Linked DNA regions of Homo sapiens: all the other regions are linked to region 3. The links are contacts of gene promoters, found by promoter capture Hi-C in human tissues and cell types (Jung and others, 2019). All regions are on one chromosome and are shown on one strand. Each heading gives the region's core, a stretch centred on a gene start or on the middle of the fragment in contact. The rest is flanking DNA. Distances are from core to core; before and after follow the strand shown. Region 1 overlaps ATXN1 (ataxin 1). Region 2 overlaps ATXN1 (ataxin 1). Region 3 holds the start of GMPR (guanosine monophosphate reductase).

Region 1 (4,879 bases), core at 2,349-4,848, 170 kb before region 3:
GTTTTGAGATTATTTTTGCTCCCAGCAGAGGCGCGGAGGAGGGAGCTCTCAGAGCCCCATTCTGTTCCCTACCTACAGCATGAAGGATCCAGATAACCGCAGAATGAATGAGGTTTGAGCATTTGTTTTTGCTATAAGTAAGATGGTTTCCCATTAATAAAAGTGGCACTCAGTTTACTTTGTCTTCGCCAGACAGGCAAAGGGTAAATTAAGGTGGTTACCTGTGGTGTCCCAGCTCTTTCCCAAGGCTGGACTAGTGTGAGCCGAGAACCAGGCAGGACTCACTCACAGGTCCCTTTCTCTGCTACTTCTGCTCTGGTTTTATGCGAAGCCCTATTTCCCAGCTGCTTCGGGTAAACAAGGACTTCTGTGTTGAAATAATAACCACTTGGGCTGGGCGCGGTGGCTCACGCCTGTAATCCCAGCACTTTGGGAGGCCAAGGAGGGTGGAGCATCTGAGGTCAGGAGTTCGAGACCATCCTGGCCAACATGGCCAAACCCCATCTCTCCTAAAAATACAAAAAATTAGCCGGGCATGGTGGCAGGTGCCGTAGTTCCAGCTACTCGGGAGGCTGAGGCAGGAGAATCTCTTGAACCCAGGAGGCAGAGGTTGCAGTGAGCCGAGATCGCACCATTTCACTCCAGTCTGGGCGACAGAGTGAGACCCTGTCTCAAAAAAACCAAAAACAAACAAACAAAAAAACCACTTATTGTTTCACTGCCTAATATTAATTAATTGGCCAAATTTCTATTTTATTATATTCCATATATTTTAAAATAATTTCTTCTTCTGTTGTACAAACCAAGATAGAAGATAATTTGCCCAAGAACACAATTGGTAGGTATCCTAGCTAGGAAAGTGGGTGCTTCTGAAAATTATAAAAATGAAATGAGGTAATTTTCTGGGCCCTTGGTACAATGCCTGAGATGTCATATATACTCAGCTAATTATAAGTGACATTTTGTTCTAGAATCCAGTAGCTCAACTTTTAGTCCATTGTGCTGAACACAAATCTATAGATCCTTAAATTGTATACTTTTATTAATTTAATTTTAAAGAGCCAGAAAAATTGACTACATTGGAAACATTCCAGTCCACCAACATATTGAGTAGAAAGAAGGACAAAGGCCATATTCTCTTTCAGATGCTACAAATTGTGTATATTTTCAGTAAGCTGTGTCTGCTTAAGGAGGCATTACTGCATTCGGATAGATAAACTCAAATAAAAAGGCCTGAGTGAAGAGGCTCTACTGGGTTTAGCGTTTTTTTGTTGTTGTTGTTCAGTTTTGCATGTGTGTTTTTAAATCAGTTTATGGTTCATAAGCTGATGAAGCAGTGAGTACAAGTTTGAACTATGAGAAGCAGGTTTGAATAAGTCTAGACATTTGGTTATCTTCTGTCTAGCATTCATTTGTGTCGTGGGCGTCACACTCTGGGGATTAGTGTTTCATTATGCAGAAGCTGTTTTATCTTTAGCTTTCTTATAATAGCTTAAAGTGAATTCTGAGTGGAGAGAGAATGAAGGCCAGGCCTTAGTAACTGCAAGAATCATACCAAAATGGGTTGGATGGGTTTTAACAGTGACCGATAAGCATTACGACCTCACTCTCTGATAGTTCAGTTGGCTCGATGCTGTCTCATCACCTCATTTAGGGTACAATATGCTGAGGAACTGACCAAAGGTCCCTGAACAGTGAGAGATAGGGAAGAGCAGAAATCCGTTCCTGTACCAAGTGTCTAACACTTAATATAGGTGAGAGCTGGCGTGAGATTATCTGTGCTGTGGAAAAATGAGGACCTATCGATACCTCTAAGTATATAATCACTGCCGTGTCACATTTTAATTAGCTCCTTGAGGCTATAGAAAGAAGTTCGCTTCTTATCCTCCAAATTAAGCATCACTTTTACAAACAATCAATGTTCCATTTTCAAAACCCCAAGTAGAGCAATGTTTGATTTTCCTTACTTTCCAGCTTTGAGAATGTTTCATTTTTAGAAATATGTTATAGGAATGTAAAGTAACTCTTGTTTCCCCAAATAACCACCTCCTTATTATCTGTTCCCCTAAGCTGAATCCTTTCAAAGGAAATTTTGTCTTCAGGCTAAGTTTAGTGGCTGATGGAAATCAAAATTATATCAGGTGGGCCATTGCGTCAGTAAAAAAGCCCAGACCACCACCACACAGGATTTTTCTCCAGACACCCAAACATCATGTCACAAAGCTCAAAAAAGTAGTGATTAACATGCAGTGCTTTCAGGAGGCCCACATTGCCGATTCAGTCCCAGTATGGGCTCGTCAGTTTCACTTTCATTCATTCATTTATTTATTTATTCCCCCACCCATTGATTCACATTCACTCATCCATTCATTAAACATTTGCTGCACACAATATCACTGTTAGACAGACTTTCAGAAATGATTGGGTTCCTGTATTACAGACATGAGCCCACGGCACAAAGGTCAAACTAAGAGTAAGATGGATGTTTATAGCACAAGCCTATAACAAAAAGAATGGGTCCCGAGCCGCATCTTCTTCCAAATGCACAAACTATATTTGTACCTTAAAAAAAAAACAAAAACAGTGTTTCCTTTTGAGAGGCAGCATGGTATATGGGAAGAACACGGATTTAAGAACTAGACAGGCCTGGGTTTGAATTCTGCATCCATAATGTGCTAACTGTATCATTTCGAGGAAGTTCTTTTGAGTTTCAGTTTGTCTTTAAATAGAGTCATCATTTCTACTTTGTAGGGTTGTGTGAGGATTAAATATAAAATATGCAGCATAATGACTGGCACATTTAAACGAAGTGCTCAGCAAGTGCTATTTCCCTTCCCCTTTCTTCATTTCTAACATAGTTTGGGAATGGTTTAGGATGACTCTTTTTCTTCTTGTGAATAGATAGAGACCTCATCACCCTAACACTAGAAAACTATAGGACAGAGACCATACTTCTTGCTGTGGCCAGCCCTCATCCACTTTGATGATGCTTGCAGCTCCCAAGAGAGACAACAGCCCCCACGGCATGGCCAAGAGAGGAGCAAACTCTCTCCCCAAGGCAGTCACTCTGGGGATGCCATTGTTCCATTGCCAAACTCATGACCTTTGGGGAATTTGGAAATCTACTACTTTGTGGGGAGAAAAGGACAAAGAAAGTCAAGATTAAGCTTTATATGTAAAGGCCTTTTATTTTAATGGTGTTGAATTGAGTTTGGATTTTGCGTACCCTTCAAATTTCTTAGGGTGTGGGTGAGGGCATCCTAGGAGATTTAATTAGCTCCTTGAGCGGCACTGAAGTTTGCGACATTGAGGCACATTTTCTTCTATTGTCCATTGAAGTGGGGGAGCCTGGCAATGAAATTTCTGAGAAACTGACGCTGTTGCCGTGGATAGAATTGTATGGATATTTGAATTTAGTTTAGTCACTTGGTGGAGTTTTATTTTGTTGTTTGGTTTCTTTTGGAAAGAGAAAATTAGTATAGTATGAATCTGAGCAGTCTGGTTACATGCTTTAATGGGCCTCTGAGATAAAGCAGAAAAGGATGTAGTCTAGTAGTAACCCTTTAGATGATAAGGGACACGCAGGAGGCTGTCCAAGACAGTCTGTTAATCTTAATAGTCTCTCACTTGTTAAGACCTGATTTATTTCAAACTAAATTTCTTGTTTTGAGTTTCCGGGTGAAAGTTCTGGACTGAATCCCTAAAAACATGCACAACAAAGAAGAAGGCTTTTAGAAAGGTTTCTCCTATTGACAGGGTTCATATTCTATAGTTCACAATTCAGTGAATCAACATTTATATTAATTTCATCCGTTACAACCTCAGAATTTGCCTACAAGATCCAATGGCATTTTTACTGCCCTTATTTAGCAAGCCTATACAGTACTTCATGCACTTGGTCATGTCTTCAACTAATATTTATTGGGTGTCTTCCCTAAGCAAGATAGTGCGAGAGAGAGAGCTGAGTTAAAACATTCAAGATAACCTCAAGAAGCTGACAATCTACTAAGGGAGATAAGACATACATATTAATAAGAACAACTTAAACACAAAGGACAAGATGATATGTGGCATATCTTATCAATTAAATAATGTTGGACTTCAGAGGGTGAAGGAATTAGGCATGAAGGTATATCTCAACAGGGCTGTGAATGACTGGAAACAAGGTCTTCTCTCTTCACACTGTGAGCCAGCCACATCCATACTACGGTGACATTCATTTCTCCCCCAGGCCAGCTATGGGCAGAAGTTTAATTATCCTTGAACGTCTTCAATGATCCTCATCTTTGCCCTTGTTCCCTCTTTATCCTTTCTTTCTCCCCAATGTCTTAAATCCTGATGCAGCCAGGGAGATTTTTTTTTTTTAACCTTCAAGAAGGTAAAAAACTATGCCAGGGCAAAATGCCAGATCAATGTTGCTATTAATATAATCAGATATAAACTTTTTCCAGTTGGCACCAACAACCCTGGGCCTTCTCTGAGTACCACCTATAAACAGGGCTTCAATTTCCCATTTTTGCATACTTACTAATGTACTACAGATCTTGCACTGACTTTAATTCAATATCAATATTAAAGTCATATGAGGTAGTAGTAAATAGAGATAGCCATACCTTAGAGTCAATAAGACATAAAATTAGTTATGTTATTATTATTATTAATTATGCATAATATGTCATTTTCCTGAAGAGAACAGACTAATAGCTGATTTCAGCAAGCATCTTTAGGCTTTTGTTTTCAAATTATTTTACATCTTTTTCTTTTCTTTTCTTTTCTTTTTTTTTTTTTTTTTTTTGACACAGAGGTCTCACTCTGTCACCCAGGCTGGAGTGCCGTGGTGTGATCTCAGCTCACTGCAACCTCCGCCTCCCAGGTTCAA
Region 2 (5,000 bases), core at 1,490-3,989, 250 kb before region 3:
GCCTCAAGTGTGCTTCTCAAAAGTATACAAGGCGAAATAAGTTGATAGTATCGTTCCAGGAGAAGCTGTTCCTGGGTCAGCCTTGAAAGGGGGAAAAAAATCAAGAAATCCAGGTGTGGAAAATATTAATGATCAGGATATGAATAAGTCTTTTCATTAAAAGCAACAGCAAATAAACAAAAAGTTATCCAATCCTTTTCCAGCAGGGCCTCGCTGTGCCACTCTGGTGGGTGTAAGTGTTGTCTTCGGTGGGCGGAAATGGCAGACAGCCAAGTGGAAAATTTCACAGTGTCGCAAACATTCAGTGCACGAAACGCTGCAAACCAGCAATCTGAGGGAGCCGTGTACCAAATAACCACGCTCCTGCATGTGCCCTACTGCCCACCTTACACTCTTTCTCCTAGCTTCCTGCGTGATGCCTTCACTTTCTTTTTCCCGGAGATTCCAGATTCTTCGTTTCTGTTCCTATTCTTTCCTGAAACTCAGCACAGTAGGGCATGCAGACGTTTGGATGCTCCCGGGATAGTTGATGATTGGTGCCTTACCAGTGCTGGCTTTTGTATTCTGGCTCCAGAGCTCAGGAACAGGCTTATGACCACCAACAACGCTTTGCATTAACATAGTGGATTTCTTCTCGGGAACTGTGTGTGCTTTGCAAGAATGATCTTCTTGATCTTCTCCATGACCCAGTAAGATATGACAGTGGCAGAAGGTGCTAGTCCTTGCCTCCTTTTGCAGAAGAGTAAAGCCAAGTGGCCTGTTTTGAGGCTTTTGCAAGTTTGCATCTCAGCTAAGATTGTGTCTGAAGTCTCCCAGAAATGGCTTCAACTTTGGGGTGAGGAGAGGCTGGCTGTACCATGTTGTGTTCTTTTTGGGAAAAGAGCAAGAACATTGAACTTCTTTTTTAAGAAAATGGTCTTTGGTGAACTATCAATTCGTCTAATTGGTCGTGAGACTGTATTTGTTCAGATAACAAGTGATTTGATGATGTGTTTACCTTTTTCTTTTTCTTCTGTTCTATTTCCATGCTAGGTATTTCTCACTTCTCTGTGAAAGGAAGAAAGAACACGCCTGAGCCCAAGAGCCCTCAGGAGCCCTCCAGAGCCTGTGGGAAGTCTCCATGGTGAAGTATAGGCTGAGGCTACCTGTGAACAGTACGCAGTGAATGTTGTAAGTTAACAACCAAGAACAATATGTGTAGTGGCTTGCCTTGTAGGATTCATGAATCACTTGATGTAACCGAGCCAGGTGTTGAAGGGGTATTAGCATGAGCTCTAGGTGATCGTCCAATTAATTTCTTTTTTTAATTGGAAGGGAATTTAATTTTTTAAGGGAAGAGGTCCTGTTTGTATTTGCTGGAACTTGCCTTTCTCTCGGCTTCTATGGCATGCTGCAAACTATCTACTTCAGGAATAAAAGGATGGAATACAGTGATTCTTTCATTGTAGGAACACCTTTTCTACTGGTACAGTCAAATAGTATCAGATTTAGAGCAGCCCCTTTAAACTGGGCTGTTGCAGTTCTTTTAGGTTGGTGAGTAGGGGGTAAAATTCTCCAGGCTAAGGATTAGCAATCAGAGTTTCCATCCAGCAATTATTCTTCTGTATGTGCAGTTGATGAAAATGACATTTTTCTCTCTGGCTTGTAAAATCTTGAGGTATGCAAGTTACAAGCAGTTATGTTTGGTGCTTCCCTTACTTAAAATGAGCTGATTTACTGGTTTTGATCAGTTACTGGCTTGGGATTTTGAGATTAGTAAAGTTTGTTCCCACATGTCACCTGATGGCCGCCTTGCATGAGAAGTTTTAGTGTCAGGTAATGGAAGAGATGACATAGTGTGACTTCAGGGAGCCCTTCCACTAGGAAATAATGCAAAGGTGCTCAGCCCTCCTACTTTCTAGAGAATTTACCTTGTTGCTGGACTGTGTCACAAAACACAGTTAGGAGATTTTGACCAGGAAAGAAAATAGCTACATGAAACCCAGGATGGCCTATGAATACCTCTGAGGACGAGAAGATATTATCTTCAAATTTTAGGAAATGACAAGCCAATTTCTTCTAGGTTTTTGTTGTTGTTTTTGTGTATATATAAATACATATATTTCTGTAATATATATGTATACTCTTGTTTATGTATGTGTGTGCGTGTACACACACACACACACACACACACACACACACACACACACACACATATATATTTAGGTTTCCAGCTTCTTAACTCAGCCAGAAAACTTTTTTGAACATGTATTACCTATTTTTTTTGCAGTTGCCTACAAGATTTGTAAAGAGCAAAGTGTAGCATATATCAGGGAGAAAAGTATTGACAAGGAAAAAAAATGTTCCTAATTTTTTTGGTTTCATAGATTTCTAAACATTTGTATTAAAATATGCATATGTATCCATATCATCTCCTCAGGGTTAAATAATCAGTAATATTAATATGAGCTTATTAAATTCAAATTTTCCCAGTGCTTCATTGAAAGCAGACAGTGGGAGACACTGAAGCTTCATTGTGTTTCCATTCTGTACACGTTGGGTCTAGTGGAAATCAGTCAGCCTGGAATCAGCTGACCTGAATCCTATTCCTACTGTTGAGATCAAGTACACTGGCAACCTTGGGCAAGTCGCGAGCCCCCATAAAACAATATTTTGCAAGTCTGTGTATTGCTTCATACTACCTTATTTTCATTTTTTTCTTTTTAATTGAGGTGGTGCCTTACTCTGTCACCCAGGCTGGAGTGCAATGGCAAGATCTCGATTCACTGCAACCTCTGCCTCCCAAGCTCAAGTGACCCTCCCACCTCAGCCTTCAGAGTAGCTGGGACCACAGGTGCACACCACCATGCCTGGCTAATTTTTTGTATTTTTGGTAGAGACAGAGTTTCACCATGTTGCTCAGGCTGGTCTTGAACTACTGAGCTCAAGTGATCCTCCCGCCTCTGCTTCCCAAAATGTTTTGATTACAGGCATGAGCCACCATCCCCAGCCCATACTACCTTTTTATTAAGCAATCAGCATCTTGGTTTAGGGTCCTCATAAGGGGAAGAGCATTGTGAAAGCACTATTTTACTTATTTTTTTAAAAAAAACCTTATTGTAAAAGTTTCTGTCACTATCAAGGAATAATTGTGGGCCATGTTAGATTTGGGTACTCCAGTTACAGTGTGTTTTACTAGAAATCATTTTCCCAATCAGGTAACTGTTAGAATGCACTTCTGGTGGTATTTTTTAAAGCATTTTTATCCTAGGAAACAAGTGTCTTATGTAAAACTGCTTTAGGTTTCAGGCTCTATTTAAATAACTCATGCAGTTACCATAATCAAGATAGCTTTTGTTTCAAATCTAGTGGGGGTTTTTTGTTGTTGTTTTAACCGTTGCTTTGAACTGTTCATGTGACACCCTGTCAGACCTCAAAGATTGAGTGAGGTTTTCAAAGGACTTCTGAAGTGTACACTTTAAGATGCCACATGGCAGACTTGAAGTAATTTTAAAATCCTTCTGTAAATGGAGTGTGTTGAGAGAGCAAGGAAATACCAAATTCTAGTGAACTCTTTGTGCATGCTAAGTACTTTCTTTTCAAAACCGCATTTGCTTGGTAGGGGCAGTGGGGGGTTCCTAGTTTTCTTAGTAAACTGTGATGTTGGTAACCTTTCATTATCTGGGCACATGTTTACAACACTGGTTTTCTGTCTTCCTGGGTTTAGTGTCCTGCATGCCCCAAAGCCTGTGCCATGGAGAACTGTTGCAGTAGAGAAGGCAGGCAATTTTCAAAGAATGCATGTTTGCACATAAACAGGGTCTAGGAGTGGGTGTATAAATGTGTGAGTGATAATCACAGCAGCCATTGGAAGTAGTGGTTCCCATGCTCAGCAGTCCTTGCAGATGTTACTCCTGGCATTCATTCCTGTGCATGTCCCATTAACTGCCTCTCAAATCTGCCACCACTTGCCAGCAGATGGCCTTTGCCCCTGAAGATGTTTCAGACTGGCTGTAAGGGCTGGGGGGAGGGGGGATCTTGTACAAGAAGAGAATGATGCTGACACTGAACTCAGAGTTAGCAGACCTGGATTTTATGCACAATGCTGTTGTTAGCCATATAACCTTGGGTCCTCTCTACCATGGGGACTCATTTTATGATGGACAACTTGAGAAAATTGAGTTAAATCACCTCCAGTGGTGGTTTTTACCCTAAGTGTCTCAAGTTGCATAAAGTATCAGCCTTAGATGAGGCCAATTGAACGTTTATTTTACCTTCTTGGGTTCCTAAAAATCAATGATTTGGCACTACCTCATTTACAACTGTTTTTAAAACATTGAGCACAGTCTTAGGGTTAAAAGAAAAAAAGAGTTATTACATCTTTCACTACCATGAAACCCTTTCCACAAGACCCTCCTGGGCACCATATGACAATTCAAAGGTATTTATTTGAGACTGTCCTTAGACTATAGCTTTAGCTGTTTAAATTTAGGGTCCACACTCATTGGTCCTTTTGAAAATAAACAGGAACGATTTTTGAACTTGAGTTTTCTAAAACCACCTCTGTGCTCAAATATTGGTTAGAGTCTAAGCAAGGAGAAAGTGATCCATATTTCATTCCTAAGCTTCTCTGCTTCCTTAAGTAGGAATTCTTGAGTTACCTTATCAAAGCAGCCTTCCCTGATCTACATAAAATAGCATCCACCCCATCCCTCTCAGTCCTCTAGCCTTCTGTGTTTTTCTTTTAAGCACCTTACATATTATATATTTATTTGTTAATCATCAGTCTCCTCAACTAGTCTGCAAGCTCTGCAAAAGGAGGGATGGTATTCTTATCCTTATTCTCATTCTTATTCTTCCCTGGTGAATGAATAGTACCTAAAATACTGCTTGTTCCCATAATGGGCAGTCAGTAAATATTCATTGAGTGAATGCCTAAATGACATTCACTAAGTGAATGCCTCTCATGTGTGGGCCTGAGCCATTAGGAAAAGGAACATACATGCTGTTCTGATGAGAAT
Region 3 (4,732 bases), core at 1,169-3,668:
CCTAACTAGATCCCTCAACGCCACCGAGGCAAGTAAAGTCAGATCATGGGGGTGGCCAGCCAGGCAGCAGCCTCACGCATCAGGGAGCTAAACCATCACGGCAACCGATTAGAAAGGCAATGCTGGTTAACCTGAGTCTCCAGGCCCGTGGCTGGCAAACTCCCACGAACATAAAAATACAAAAGAGACTCCTCAAGGGCACTGAGTTCTCACTGCAATGTGTACATGAAGATTGCAAAGATGCTATCCCAAACTGGAACATTAGTTACAATCTGCCCAAATTATGAAGCCAAGTGTTGCATGACATTGTCGCATGATGTGATAGTATTCCCCGAGAAGGAGTAATTCATTCTATTACATAAATTTCATTTTAGCTTTAGAGACAGGGTTGTCCAGGCTGAAGTGCAGTGGCACCATCATAGCTCACTGTAACCTCCAGCTCCTGGGCTCAAGCCATCCTCCCGCCTCAGCCTTCCAAGTAGCTGGGACTACAGGTGAGCACCACTGCCCTAATTTTTTAAATTTTTGTTGTAATCTCCAGCTCGTGGGCTCAAGCCATCCTCCCGCCTCAGCCTTCCAAATAGCTGGGACTAGAGGTGTGCACAACTGCCCTGGCTGATTTTTTAAATTTTTGTAGAGCTGAGGTCTTGCTTTGTTGCCTAGGCTGGCCTCGAACTCCTGGCCTCAAGCAATCCTTCCACCTCAGGTTCCTAAAGTGCTGGGATTACAGGTGTGAGCTACTGTGCCTGGCCCTATTACATTAATGTTCAATATTTTACCTTCTCAACATGTTTTCTGGTTCAGAAAATAGGTATATCTTTGTTTTGAACATCCAATTTTCTGAAAAATGAGTTTCTCTCTTCTAAATACATTTTGAATATTTAAAGAATATTGAGGCCACCAAATTATTAGCACATCCAGAATCCCCCTATTTCATCTTGGTCTTGCCTTAGGAATTGGCTACAGCTCATGCTTCCAGAGGCCCAGGCCTGCCCTCCAAACTGTTTTTGTTCCAAGAGAGGCCCCCTCTTTAGCACCTGAAAGGTCATGAGGGACAGGCACAGGGTCACCCAATCTGGGGCGATAAGTTTTAATCATTCCTCCCCTACGTCCTCCAGTCCTGCCGGGCTCCAAACCAGCCAATGCTGCTGCTTACAGAAGGCCACTTGGTTTAGTCATTGGCTAACGCGGAGGCTTCCCCAATCCAAGCAAGCCCTCGGCTGGCAGCCCCAGGCACTGCAGTTAGGCCTGGCACCGGAGTGGGCAGCGGACTTCTTTGCTGAGGGGATTTATTTATGGTCTTGTTTGTGGAGCTGAGTGGACGGAGCTGTGCAGGTTGGCCCAGCCTCCTCGTGTTTACTCCTTCAGCCCCAGCCTTCAACCGTGTCCGGTTTCCTCACCTTCCTCTCCAGCTCTCAGCAAAGCCAGTCACCAGCGCACACCACCCCGGGGCACTCTGCCTTTCAGGCAACTAGTTTATCCTTCAGGGACTGGCCTCCCTTCCCCCAGCCTCAGGCTATTTCCAGTCCGGTCTCCACCTGTTCCTTAGGATTTGAGGACATCCAGGCAGAACCAGGGAAATGCCCGAGGCTTCCAATTCGCCCCCACCTCTCTCACCCCAAAGCTTTCGAAACTCTTCTCCAGGGCTAGGCTGGGACCGCGGGCTGTCCAGTACCGCTGAGTCCCCAAGCCCCACTGCCAGCAAGGCCGCCAAACTCAGAAAGGAAACCCTGAACTTGTGCCCTGGGTTCTGGTTTTTCAGACGCGTTCACGAAGTTCCACCGCTGGACCCGAAGCGAAAGCAGCAGCAATTATCAGCACTAGGAGACGCAGCCAAAAATCACCGGGATCTGCAGTTGTTTTTCTCGTCCTCTCTCCCCTAGCTCCAGTTTCCTTTTCTTGCTATAAGCGCCCTCGTACCCCTATTCCTTCTAAACCAACTGGCCACTGGATCTCGCTCATCTGTGGTCGAGTTTCACTGTGAACTTCCCCTAGGCCACCCAACGGGACCGACGTGTAGAGAATTTCATGGGCCCCCGTATCACCGCCCTTAAAGACACCTCACGTCCTGGCAGGTGCTGGGGCGCGGGAACGGGGGCGCAGCGCCCCAGTCTCAAACACCAAAGCAGGCAGGGTAACCCGGTGCCACCCCCTTCCACCCACTTGCCCCGCGCCACCCGGAAAAAAAAATCCCACCCCACTGCGACTTCCGAACGTCCCCCACCTCGGCTCGGCTCTTGAGGCTGCTCCGCTTAGGTCGGAGCAGGACATCCTTGAAGTCGAGCTTGAGGTCCGCATCTATGCGGGGCATGGTGCAGCGGCTCCTGGCTGCGGCGGCGGCGACGGCGGGGCGGGGGCGCCTGCGCGGGGCGGCGCGGGGAGCGCCGGGGCTGCTGTGCCGCGGCCGGGAGCTGGCGTGGGCCGGGTGCGCACGCCGCGGTCTTAAACACGCCCCGCCGACCCGCGGTCACGCTTGGCCCGCCCCGGGCACCGCCTCCGCCTCAGGCAGGGGTTGAGAGGCAGACTGGTTAGGGACAGATTGGCGGCGAAGCCCTTCCTCCTCGCGCCGCCGCCCCCGTCCTTCCCCCTCAGGTGTACAGCCCGTGGCAGTGACCGAATGGGGACGGGGGAGGGAAATGCGCACCGTTCTGTTTGTCCCCAGGGTCCCCGATGGAGAGGGGACTTAGCGTGTGGCTGCCTTATCCAAGGGAAAAGTCGCTCCCTGAGAGCTTTTACTTTTTTTTTTTTTTTTTTGAGACAGTCTCACTGTCGCTCAGGCTGGAGTGAGTGGCGCTATCGCCGCTCATCGCAGCCTCGACTTCCTGGGCTCAAACGATTCTCATGCCTCAGCCTCCTCGAGTACAGGCGCACGCCGCCACACCCAGCTTATTTTAAAAATTATTTCCTAGAGGCGGGGTTTCACCATATTGCCCAAGCTGGTCTCGAGCCCCTGACCTCAAGTGATCCGCCTGCCTCGGCCTCCCAAAGTGCTGGGATTACAGGCGTGAGCCACCGTGCCCGGCGGATTCTCCTTTTTTAAAATTCAAGCCCGGTGTGCTCACCCAGTGTTGAGGAGCACGTCTCTCACTTGCCAAAGAACCAGAAACCCCAGGGAGGTTGTATAGAATTAAGGAAAAGAACGTGGGCAGTTAACTGTTTAGCTGTACTGGGATTGTGGAGGCCATGATTCCCTTTGGACTTGTTGTTAAGAGACAAGGTCTCACTGTGTTGCCCAGGCTGGTCTTGAACTACTGGGTTCAAGCAATCCTCCCGCCTCAGCTTCCCAGTGTTGGGACTACTGGCGTGAGCCACTGCGCCCAGCCTGGATTTCAGGATTTTTGTTTAAGAAAAACAGTGAGGTCTGTAGTCGACGCAGATCCTGAGATTTGAGGAGCCTGAGTCCCCTCTGAGGGTTACCAGTGATGTGAGTTCGAGGGGTTACCAGTGATGTGAGTTCATTGATTCACTTATTGACCTTACCGACCTTTTATTATACATTTGAAATGTGCTGCCGGGCTTCATGCATCATCTCATTCACTCTCAGAACAACCCAATGAAGAAAGAGCCATTTCACAGATAAGGAAAAACGAGGCTTCTATAAATGAAATAACTTGCCTAAGGCCGCAGAAAAATTCAATATAAATTTCTCAGTCCTTAAAACTTGCTACAACTATTCACTGAAGCTGCTTTTGTCCTGGAACATCTCTGCCTGAGTTTGAAACCTGGTTCCACCACTGTCTAGCTAGGTGACCTTAGGGGAGTCAATTTCTCTAAGTCTCAGTTTTCTCATAAAAGGGGTGGGGGCAGGAGGGGGGGTTAACCCTATCTCCTCCCTGGTTTTTGTGAGAATTAAAGTGTGTGTGTTTATGTAAGCACAATGTCTGTCCCATAGTAGTTGCTCAATGCATGGTAGTTACAGATTTGTAGTCACATGTTACATTATGTGCATTGTGTTTGTATTTTCAAACTAGAATGCTAACTGCACAAAGGCAAGAATCATCTTTCATTCTCTTCCATTTTTCTGCAGCCTCGAACTGAGCTAGCAACTGTTCTCCTTGAGCTAGCATGTGATAAGGCTGACCATAAAAGATACATCACAATATTCAATTTAACACAAATGTCTGAAGATGATAAAGGTCTCAGCCCATCCCACATGGTTTCATTAGCTATACCCCAAAGGAAGTTCATGAAGTTTCAGGGAAGGAAATGAAACTTATCAGAGAGAATGAAAGTAGCCACAATTAGTCCAGCCCATGCAATGTTTATAACCCTTGACGAATTCTTGGGAGCTGGCCAGATGTGCTGCTTATTTGTGAAGTACGGAAAGGAAACCTAATTCTGATCTTTTAAAGATTAAATAGAGGTAAAATATAATTACTAGATGGTATGATTATTTTTAAATTATTATCCTTAAAGGGAAGAGAAACTGACCTTGTTAAGCATCTGCCAGCGTGGATGAGGGCTTTATTCATTGTTTCATACATGGTCTTAAAGGAGAAGCTTCTGTAGGTTGTCCTTGCTCTTTCCCTCTGGTTCTCTTTCTTTCTGGCTAGCCCTCCTTTTATTAGAATAGACAGAGAAGTTCATTTTACACATTCCATTCCCTCTCCCTCTGGAACATTCCTCTATAACTGCCCTCTTCTCTGACACAAAATCATACTCCTGTTAGAGTCAGCCTGAGTCCCTGATTCTTCTAAAACCGGCTTTGCAAAAATTATGACAGTGAGAAAAA

The links. Contacts are between HindIII fragments. The study calls those that stand out against the background at their distance.
Region 1: a fragment that was not itself captured here is called in contact with the fragment with the promoter of GMPR in region 3 in 1 of the 25 tissues and cell types used here (mesendoderm cells).
Region 2: a contact is called between a fragment that was not itself captured here and the fragment with the promoter of GMPR in region 3, in 1 of the 25 tissues and cell types used here (H1 embryonic stem cells).

Annotation. Positions count from the first base shown.
Region 1 is chr6:16,411,042-16,415,920 of GRCh38, reverse strand. All of the region lies in intron 6 of ATXN1 (ataxin 1), which reads left to right. Among named protein-coding and RNA genes, the nearest start is that of GMPR, 170 kb to the right of the region's middle. RefSeq lists an enhancer at 1,618-1,807. The HindIII fragment of the contact is 4,193 bases long and covers 1,502-4,879 here.
Region 2 is chr6:16,482,142-16,487,141 of GRCh38, reverse strand. It overlaps ATXN1 (ataxin 1), which reads left to right. Exons shown (of 8, transcript NM_001128164.2): 6 at 1,033-1,170. Among named protein-coding and RNA genes, the nearest start is that of GMPR, 250 kb to the right of the region's middle. The HindIII fragment of the contact is 4,617 bases long and covers 431-5,000 here.
Region 3 is chr6:16,236,273-16,241,004 of GRCh38, reverse strand. GMPR (guanosine monophosphate reductase) reads right to left here and starts at 2,418. Exons shown (of 9, transcript NM_006877.4): 1 at 2,225-2,418. The coding sequence starts at 2,311. RefSeq lists silencers at 2,316-2,415, 2,536-2,635. The HindIII fragment of the contact is 5,881 bases long and covers 766-4,732 here.